Regions from separate parts of the Homo sapiens genome. Here region 2 is linked to region 1. Evidence: promoter capture Hi-C in human tissues and cell types (Jung and others, 2019). All regions are on one chromosome and are shown on one strand. The core of a region is centred on a gene start or on the middle of the fragment in contact, and the rest is flanking DNA. Distances in the headings are between cores, read along the strand shown.

What was found. The method cuts DNA at HindIII sites, captures the fragments that hold promoters and counts their contacts. A contact is called where the count stands out against the background at its distance.
Region 2: a contact is called between a fragment that was not itself captured here and the fragment with the promoter of SLC29A1 in region 1, in 1 of the 25 tissues and cell types used here (dorsolateral prefrontal cortex).

The regions. Positions count from the first base shown.
Region 1 is chr6:44,219,924-44,224,844 of GRCh38, reverse strand. SLC29A1 (solute carrier family 29 member 1 (Augustine blood group)) reads right to left here and starts at 1,250. Exons shown (of 13, transcript NM_001372327.1): 1 at 1,204-1,250. RefSeq lists enhancers at 171-320, 563-1,421 and a silencer at 1,011-1,410. The HindIII fragment of the contact is 20,616 bases long and covers 1-4,921 here.
Region 2 is chr6:43,522,785-43,527,803 of GRCh38, reverse strand. It overlaps XPO5 (exportin 5), which reads left to right. Exons shown (of 32, transcript NM_020750.3): 26 at 73-170; 27 at 1,057-1,119; 28 at 1,883-1,965; 29 at 2,590-2,697; 30 at 2,836-2,973; 31 at 3,169-3,333; 32 at 3,799-5,019. The coding sequence ends at 3,936. It also overlaps a transcript of POLR1C not described here. Among named protein-coding and RNA genes, the nearest start is that of POLR1C, 8.2 kb to the right of the region's middle. The HindIII fragment of the contact is 5,249 bases long and covers 784-5,019 here.

The DNA.
Region 1 (4,921 bases), core at 1-2,500:
GATACCAGCTCAGAGCATCTGGTGTCCCTCCAACTATGCCTTGGCCTGCTGAGGTGGGCCCCTGAAAGTAGCCACCAAATTGAGTACCTCCCTGCCTCCAGACTCCCAACACCTCTCCTGCAATTCTCCACTCCCAGGATTTCATATGGGGCTAGCCACTACCTGCAGATCTCTTGTCTTTTCTTCACAACCACCCATAAGCTAGTACTAGCACTGAATAGATGGGGCCAGCTGAGGTTCAGAGGGGTTGAGTCACTTGCCTGAAGTCACAGAGCTGGTGAGTGGAGGAGCTAGAATCCATATTAAATGTTCAAGCTCCTTTTGGAATGGAGAGAGGTATAAAAGCTGCTTCTCAGTTAGCCCTGTAGACTGGGAGGTGGGGGGAACTCTGATTCAACTAAAGGGAAAAATGAGGTGGAGACCAAGATCATTCCCAGCCTGACTTGAGTGTCAGGCAGCTCAGCCCCGCCCCATCACACACATCCTGGCATGGGGAGCTTACACAAGCAGGAGGAAAGTTGGAGGGTCTGGAGGCCACCGAGAGGAGTAGGCAAAGGGACTACCACAGGGCTGCAGAGAGACCCCTAGAGGTGTGAGGGCAGGGTTGGAGCCAGCCTTGACCTACGACTGCTCTCTCCTGGTAAGCAAAGCCGAGGACTGTTTGTCTTCACCCTCTCATATACCCTCACAGTAAATCAGTAAATGAAGACGTGCGCAGGAAGGAGACGCCAGGGATACGAGTTTAGCCAGTAAAAGACCGGGGTTAAAGAGACAGCCCCGCACCTCCGCTCGCGAGCCTGCACCTCCGCTCGCGAGCCTCCATCCCCATCCCCATCCCCATACCCCTCCGCCAGCGCAGTCAGCGGCACGGCCCCTCCCTGATACCGACCAGATCGATGGGGATCACCCGTCCACTCGCCTGCCCCTTGCGGAGGTCAACGTGACCGCAGCCTGTTTTAGGCCCGGGAGCCAGGCCGCCCCGCCCAGCTTGGGTCCCGGTCCCCGCAGGGTCCTCAGGCTCCCTGGCCCGTGCGCGCCACGTGCTGCGCGGCTCCGCACGCTCCGCACTGGGGCCCCACCCGGCGTCCCTTCTCCGGGCTGCGGAGCCGTCAGGCCCGCCCTCCCTGCCCTCCGTGGCAGGCGGGCAGCGGCGTCTTCCGCCCCGGCAGTCCCCAGTCCCCAGTCCCCGGCCCCGGGCAGCACCTGCCGCAGAAGCACTGCTCCCGCGCTGAGATCCGCGCGCTCTCGCTGCAGCTTCCCTCTCCCGCCGGGGCACATTCAAACCCGCCCTCCGCTGAGCTCGCCCCGCCCTGCGCCCACTGCCACCTCCCCGACGCCCGCGGCCCCGCCCCCGGCCCACCCCTGCCACCCCGCGGCGACTCCGCGCGCTCCGCCGCTCCCACCCCGAGCCCCTGCGCCCCCAGGGCCGCCTGGTCGTGTTATTGCGGTAGATAGGACCTCTTTGGGCCCTGCCACACCAAGGCTGTCTGTCCATCGTGTGGGGTACATGGGGCTGGAGGGTACAGCCACACATTAAGGACCTGCGCAGACTCCCATAAAATTCATCTCGGGACTGTTCCATTTACACACCCGCTGCTCAGACCGGCCCCGACGCTCCACGGCCCACTCCACCTCAGATATTCCGTTATCCCTTCCCAAGCCCTGCCCACGCCGCGCTTCCTCCACACTGCACCTTTTTCCTCCCAGCGCCCTCCCTTTCAGCGCCCCCTTCTTTCTTTCAGTCCCCCTCCTCTTCTTTTCCTTCAAAACTGCTTCTGTCCCCACCGCGCATTTTCTGTGACCAGCATGATGGGTTTTCCCATCCCTGACACATCCAGTCCCAGCCACAGACGCGCAAACACCACCCCACTCACAACTTTGACTTGGAGGGGGTATGTGCCTCTGCCTGTGCTTGCGTGTGCGCGCGGAGGGGGGTGGGGCAAAGCCCTCCAGCTCCCTCATAATTCACCCTTTCTAAATCCAGCACTTTGGAAAACTGAGGCACAGGTGGGAATGGGAAGAGAAAAAGCTAGGAACAGCCTTATATCCTCAGTGAATCCTATTGTCCCAGCCATCCTGACAGGCGGAAGCCTTGCTGAGTATGTCTTTCACTAGCTAAGGAGGAAGGTGTGGGCGTGCTGAGGGGTGGTCCAGCAAGTCCCTCCAAGGGAGGGGGAGGGAGGCCCTCTCTTTGGTCGGGCAATAAATGGGGTGGGGTGGGGGGCACTCCCTGCCCTTCCAGCAGTACTCAGTGCTAGAGGATGATCCTAAGGCTGGAAAGGTCCTGAGGAGAAAATCCAACCCACGCTGCCCACCCCATGCCCACTGACCCGAAGGGCTTGTCCCCTAGAGAAGCCACAGACACTGATTAACAACTGGCAGTACCTCACATCATAGGGATAAGGTAGTCCTACCCTGTCCCCAGAGAAACAGACAGGGCCCTAAGGAGAGAGGTGGCTTTTCTAATTAGGGTCAGTGGCTCTCCCCAAGCTACTCCAGAATGGGTGTCCCCAGCCTTCTGTTTCCATGCCCCACAGAGATGACACACATATTCCTTCCCAACCCTCCCCCACCCCACCCCCATCCCCCACATCCCCGCCAGCCCTAACCAGAGGGCAGGAAGATGGGTTTAGGTGGTATTTTTCCAGGCACAGCCCCATGACTTGAGAGTGGCTTCATGTCTGTCCACAACCCCCTAATTCCTGCCCTCATGTTTGTCCAGTCTCTCTCTCTTCCTCTCCTAGCCCTCCTCTGCCCTCTGCCTTGGCCCCCTTCCTCGCTCCCCACCCTCCTTTCCTGGTCTCTGGGTCTGTGGGGGTGGCAGGGCTAGTGGTCAGAAGATCTGCCAGGCATGGCAAGGCTGGTGGCCAGTGGCTGCAGTTGTGTACAGAGGGGGCTGGAGGTGGAAGAAAACTGGAGGGAAGTGGTGAGGGTCTCAGGCCAGACTGGGAAAGGCTGGTTCCTCTCCCCACCCAAACTGGGGCCCTGCCAGCTCGGTGGATGGCAACAGCCAGGGCTGTTATTGTTGGAGAGAAGTCCGTCTGGCATCCATCCTGCTGGGCCCCTAGCCAACACCCACACCCCTCTGTAGCCACCTCCCAAGCAGAGGTTGCTGGGTGCCAGGGCCCCCTGCTGGACAGCCTGGGAGCCCCAACTTACACAGGCCTTGCCTGGAGTTTTTCTAGCCAGGCCTTGCCAGCTCTCTTCAGTCTCTGCCTGGTCTTCTGGCTTCTCTCCCTCCCTGAGCTCCCTCAGGTCCCTGTCGAAGGGGTGGGGTGGGAAGGGTTGGTCCTGCTGCACCTCTACTCTACACCTTATTCACCACCCTATATGGGACCGTGGCTTGGCCCAGACTCCCTCCCCAACTTGGCAGGCCCCATGCATGCCTCACCACCTCACACACAGTCCTCTCTCTCCCCAGGCATGTGTCCTCTCAGCTGTCACCAACAAGTCATGTGTGTTTGCTGGAAGTGTGTTTGCTTGGCCTGGGGGTTGGTAACCAGCACATGTCTCATGACTGTCTGTGTTCTCAGTTGTGTTTGTGACTGTATCTCCATGGCCTTGTGACAGGGCTGGGACTAGGGAGAGGCCAGTGAGGCACTTGCCAGGGGTGTAAAATGTAAGGGGGAGCCAAAAAACTCATGAATCAAGATAAATTTTAGGCCAGGAGTGGTGGCTCATGCCTGAAATCTCAGCACTTTTGGAGGCCGAGGTGGGAGGATCACTTGAGCCCAGGAATTCAAGACTAGCCTGGGCAACACAGTGAGACCCCATCTCTACAAAAAAAATTAAAATAAATTAGCCAGGCATGGTGGCTCGAGCCTGTGGTTCCAGGTACTCCAGAGGCTGAGGCCGGAGGTTCACTAGAGCCCGGGAGGACAAGGCTTCAGTGAGCCATCATCCTGCCATTGCACTCCAGCCTGGGCAACAGAGCAAGACCTTGTCTGAAAACACAAACAAACAAACAAAGATACATTTTAATGTAATCAAAATAAGTTTGTTTTTTTTTTTCTTTTCTTTAAGATGGAGTCTCACTCTGTCACCCAGGCTGGAGTGCAGTGGCGTGATCTTGGCTCACTGCAACCTCCACCTCCTGGGTTCAAGCGAGTCTCCTGCCTTAGCCTCCTGAGTAGCTGGGATTACGGGCACGTGCCACCACGCCCAGCTAATTTTTGTATTTTTTTTTTTTTTTTTAGTAGAGACGGGGTTTCACCACGTTGGTCAGGCTGGTCTCGAACTCCTGACCTTGTGATCCGCCCGCCTTGGCCTCCCAAAGCACTGGGATGACAGGCGTGAGCCACCACACCCAGCCCTTACCAAAATAAGTTTTAATGCAATGTCTACAAATCAAGACTCCATGATGCCAAGTGCAGTGGCTCACATCTGTCATCCCAGCACTTTGGGAGGCCAAGGTAGAAGAATCACTTGAGCTTAGGAGTTCAAGACCAGCCTGGTCAACACAGGGAGACTCTGTCTCTTAAAAAAAAAAAAAAAAAAAAATTAGCTGAGCATGTTGACGCATGCCTGTGGTCCTGGCATTTTGGGAGGCTGAGGTGGGAGGATGGCTTGAGTCCATGAGGTCGAGGCTGCAGTAGGCTGTGATCGCACCACTGCCCTCCAGCCTGAACAACAGAGCGAGACTCGGTTTTTGTTTTTTTTTAAAGACTCCATGATGAATAAAACATCAAGATTTTTTAAGTAAAGACAGGTGTGTTCACAGTGTGGGTACTGGCTCGGGGTTCGAGAAGACTAAATTCTTTGTTCAGTTAGGTCTGGGCTGGTCTTCTAGGCTAATTTTCCAGACCTCTTCCCCCTACCCTATGTTCCTGGGACATCTGTAAGTGGCTGGGGAGTTTGGGGAGGCAGTCATCTAATAATGGCCTTCGAAGGCCCAGAAAAGTGGCCCCGCATCCAGAAACCA
Region 2 (5,019 bases), core at 2,159-4,658, 700 kb after region 1:
ATTAGGGTCGCTGCTTTCCTTGTCCTTCCTTTTCTGCACTCCTGTGGAACTTGGCCCCCTGGTTTTCTGCAGTGGAGAAGATGAGGCTGCAGATGAAAACCCAGAGTCTCAAGAGATGCTGGAGGAGCAACTGGTGAGGATGTTAACCCGAGAAGTCATGGACCTAATCAGTAAGTGGCATGTCGAAACTGGGGCTATAGAGGATTTTCCTGGAAGAAGAGCTGGTCGCTCAGCCAACTCCATGAAGGCCTGACTAATGCAAAGGATTCATGTTTGCGGCGGGCATGGTGGATTGCGAGGTCAAAAGATCAAGACCATCCTGGCCAACATGGTGAAACCCTGTCTCTACTAATAATACAAAAATTAGCTGGGCGTAGTGGCGCGCAGGCCTGTAGTCCCAGCTACTCAGGAGGCTGAGGTAGGAGAATCGCTTGAACCCGGGAGGCGGAGGCTGCAGTGAGCCGAAATCACGCCACTGCACTCCAGCCTGGCAAAAGAGTGAAACTCCGTCTCAAAAAAAAAGTTCATGTTTGTAGCAACACTGACAGATCCAAAAGAAATAACTAGATAGAAGCAAGGCAGTCCTTAAGTCAACCTAAGGATACTTTATGAATTGCAAGCTGAATATGGGGAAACAAAAATAGCAGAAGGAATTTGGATTCATTAGGAATAACTTCCTAGTTTTGTCAAAATAGGGAAATGTTTTAAATTCTTGGACATGGAGGCTGTTAATTTTCTTTTTATTTTTACTGTGTCATTTTGTTTGTTTGAGATTCAAAGTAGACCAGGGATGTATCAAGCATCCTTTCCTAGTCACTCACTCTCAGAGAATTCTGTAATTTTCTCTCAGCTAGTTGAACTTGAAGGACCAAAACAGTTCGGTCATCAGAATGCCTCTATTTCTATTGGTGAAGCTAATTCTTGTGCCTTGGACGGTACCCCCATCTTCCTCCTTCCTCACCTGGCCAGAGACAGGTTGGGATCAGTGGGCCTGAGGTGGCTGTTGTGGTAGTATATACCCACCCTTCACCTAGTAACCCTGCTTTCTTGCTTTAGCGGTTTGCTGTGTTTCAAAGAAGGGTGCTGACCACAGTAGTGCTCCCCCAGCAGATGGAGACGGTAAGTGAGCCTGTGAGACCTTGGAGTTCTGCTCTTAGCCTCCTAAATACTGTTCCTTCTGAACCAGGTCAGTTTCCTTGCAGTCTGGTGAGGAGAAGACACCCTACATGTAGTTATCATCTCTGGACCAGCCCTCTTGCTGTGTGCCTCCATCATACTCCCACCTCCAAGCCTTTGCACTTGCTGTTTCCTCTGTCTCAGATGATTTCCTCCCAACCATATATGTGATCTTTTCTCTTGCTTTATTCCAATGTCACCTCTTCCCAGAGATCGTCCATGACCAACCTATCAAAAATGGCAACCCCAGCTACTCTGTATTCCTCTGCTTTATTCTTCTTCATAGCAGTTGTCACTACCCAACATTATGTTTTTATTTATGTATTCCTTTCTTACCTATCTCCCATGTTAGAATGTAAACTCCCATCAGGGAAGGGACCTATTGTCCTATACCTTTTATCCCCAGTAACTAAATCAGTGTCTGGTGCTCAAATATTTGTCCAACAACAAAGTAACTTCAGTATTTGCAGCATTTTGTGTTTCTGCCTAGAAGCTCCCATTTCCCTCATGTACAGCTTGAGTGCATCTCTAGAAGATCAGCCATGGGCATGGGCATTATGTGGAGGTGGGAGGGCTCCTAGTACTACTTAGCCACCACTTAGCCTAGAACACTCAGCTTTGCTTTGTTTTTTGCGCTTCTGTCAGAACAAGATATTCTTCTCTGTTCTGAAAGGATGGAGCTTAACATTCTACTCTCTGATAACAGATGAAGAAATGATGGCCACAGAGGTCACCCCCTCAGCTATGGCAGAGCTTACAGACCTGGGCAAATGTCTGATGAAGCATGAGGTGGGTAGAAGGAGCAGGTGATACCTTTACTCCTTGCCCAGGTGGGGAGTCACCTTTTACTTTTCTTGCTCTATGGTGCTATCAAGAGTTTTTTGTAATACTCCTTTGTTACATAAGTTCCTGGTTCCAAAGGCCCCAGAAAAAACCGAGGGAAAAGGTGCAATGCCATGGTGTCTCCCATACCAGCATAGGCAGGAGCTCTCAGGAAAACACATAGTAGGCACACTGATGCAGATCCCTGGTGTTTAGCCTCCCCAAGCCAGGCCTGAGCTTTGTCTCCATCCTACACATACAGGTTTTCTCACATTTTGATTTTTTCTTTTTGACTGGCAATACACAAAAATAGAGGAAGTAAACTCCTTTTATTTTTCCTGCTTAGCTATTTAAAACTCCAGCTCCTAAGCCAGGCATGGTGGCACACACCTGTAGTCCCAGCTATTCGGGAGGCTTAGATGGGAGAATAGCTTGAGCCCAGGAGTTCAGGACCAGCCTGGGCAACAAAACAAACCCATCTTTAGAGGGGGGGAGGAAAAAAAAAAAACCCTCCGGCTCCTGATGTGTAATAATCATCAGAGAAAACTGTGCTTCTTTTTCCATTGTAACTCTTCATCTTTTCCTGTTCAGGATGTTTGTACAGCGCTATTAATTACAGCCTTCAATTCCCTGGCCTGGAAAGATACTCTGTCCTGCCAGAGGACAACCTCACAGCTCTGCTGGCCTCTCCTCAAACAAGTATGGTTATTCACCCCTTTTCCCTGCCCCTCATGGAAGGTTTGGGTCATGCAGACTGACTAAATCATTCAGAAGAACTGGGGTGCTGAGGCCTTGAGAGAGGCCCCCTGTGGCCCTAAAGCACAGTTGTCTCCCCAGGTGCTGTCAGGGACACTGCTCGCAGATGCAGTTACGTGGCTTTTCACCAGTGTGCTGAAAGGCTTACAGATGCACGGGCAGCACGACGGGTGCATGGCTTCCCTGGTCCATCTGGCCTTCCAGATATACGAGGCACTGGTGAGTGGGGAAGGCATGGGGGAAGGATGGCTGCAGCTTCATCACTCAGTCTGCTCCTAGTCTCTTGGGCCTTATCCTAAATTCAGGCACCTGCCAAATTGCTGGTGCAATCTCTGAGAAATGGGTGTGGCAGGAAATGGGGAGGGTGGCAATATCCAAACCTACATCCAGTAAGTTTATCCCTGCTGATATCAGCGCCCCAGGTACCTGGAGATAAGAGCTGTAATGGAGCAAATCCCTGAAATACAGAAGGACTCACTGGACCAGTTTGACTGCAAGCTTTTAAACCCCTCCCTGCAGAAAGTGGCTGACAAGCGCCGAAAGGACCAATTCAAACGCCTCATTGCTGGTTGCATTGGGGTAGGTCATGCACCTTCAATAGTGCTCCCAACCCCCTTCTTAAATCATGTGTATGGGCAAACCATAAACCAGCTGTAGTTATTGACCATTATGGTGAGATTTTTTTTTTTTTTTTTTTGAGATGGGGTTTCACTCTTGTTGCCCAGGCTGGAGTGCAGTGGTACGATCTCAGCTCACCACAACCTCCGCCTCCCAGGTTCAAACGATTCTCCTGCCTCAGCCTCCCAAGTAGCTGGGATTACAGGCATGCACCACCACGTCTGGCTACTTTTTGTATTTTTAGTAGAGACGGGGTTTCTCCATGTCGGTCAGGCTGGTCTTGAACTCCTGACCTCAGGTGATCCACCCGCCTTGGCCTCCCAAAAGTGTTGGGATTACAGGCGCGAGCCACTGCGCCGGGCCAAGAGAATCTTTTAACTACTACTGAGGGCCCAGCATTAATTCTTTCTCATTTGTTTTCCACAGAAACCCTTGGGAGAGCAGTTCCGAAAAGAAGTTCACATTAAGAATCTTCCCTCACTTTTCAAAAAAACAAAGCCAATGCTGGAGACGGAGGTGCTGGACAATGATGGGGGTGGCCTGGCCACCATCTTTGAACCCTGAATCAAGCTTTTGGGCATCCTTCCTCGGCCTTTCTTGTCATCTCTTCTTTCCCTTTGTAGCCGATCTCTAGGCCCTTCTTGCACTGCCACCTCACTTTCCACCACTGTCAGCCTGGAAAGAGATCCAGGTCTGGAGCTGGAGAGAACAGGCCCTGTGCAGGACCAGAAGTAATTATACTAAAGTATCAAGAAAGGGAGTTAGGGCTTAAACTATTCTGTCTAGATGTCCCAGATAGTTCCCATTCTACTTGGAGATTTGGCTTTTCCAAGAAAAGCTAGAGCAGAGCAGCCCTTCTCCCACAAGCCCTCCCACCCCCGTGCAGCCACATACCTGTACAGAATGGTAACTAAGGGTGCTGTGCCCAACCCTGCGACTAGCAAGGCTCGCAGCAAGAGCACAGCCCTCAACTACTTGTGCCAGAGTTTCTCTTGGACCACTCCAACTCCCACTGAGCCCTTTTGCTGCTGGGCTGGCAGGAAACTTTCCCCACTCCCTAAGGGGCATGTCTGGGTTAGGTGCTAAGTGCTGAAGAGAACTTGGTCAGTTCTCTCAACTTTGCTTTGGGCAAGAATCTGGTCACCTGATGGGATCCATGGTACAGGCTACTGCTAAACTTGGCACAGTATCAAGTATAGTACCTCCAAGGACCAGGGCTGGGAAGTCTTTAGTGCTAACATCCCCTTTAGAGTTCACACATCTTGCCCTTCCATGAATGACCCCTCAGTCTGGCCTCCCCAGCCTCAAGGTCCACTCAGGCACAAGAGCCACAGTACCCTAGATAGTGTCACATGACACCGTTGTCATCCAAGGATAATACAGACCAACTAGGCTACATCTGTGATGAGCAGCTAGCAAAGCCGCTGGTCTTCTCCTAGGACTAAGTCCAGGTGCCTTCCACAATCTCATGGTCTTTCAGGTCCCTGGTTACTTTTCTCAAAGGCCATTTCCAAAAGAATACATGCCTTCACATCACAACCTGTACTGTGAGTCCATTCTAGAGGTCACTGAAAGGCCCTGTAAAGAGAGGACATGGATACGGGACCTGGCCCTGAGGTTATTACTGGCCGTAAGGCAGAGTTAATC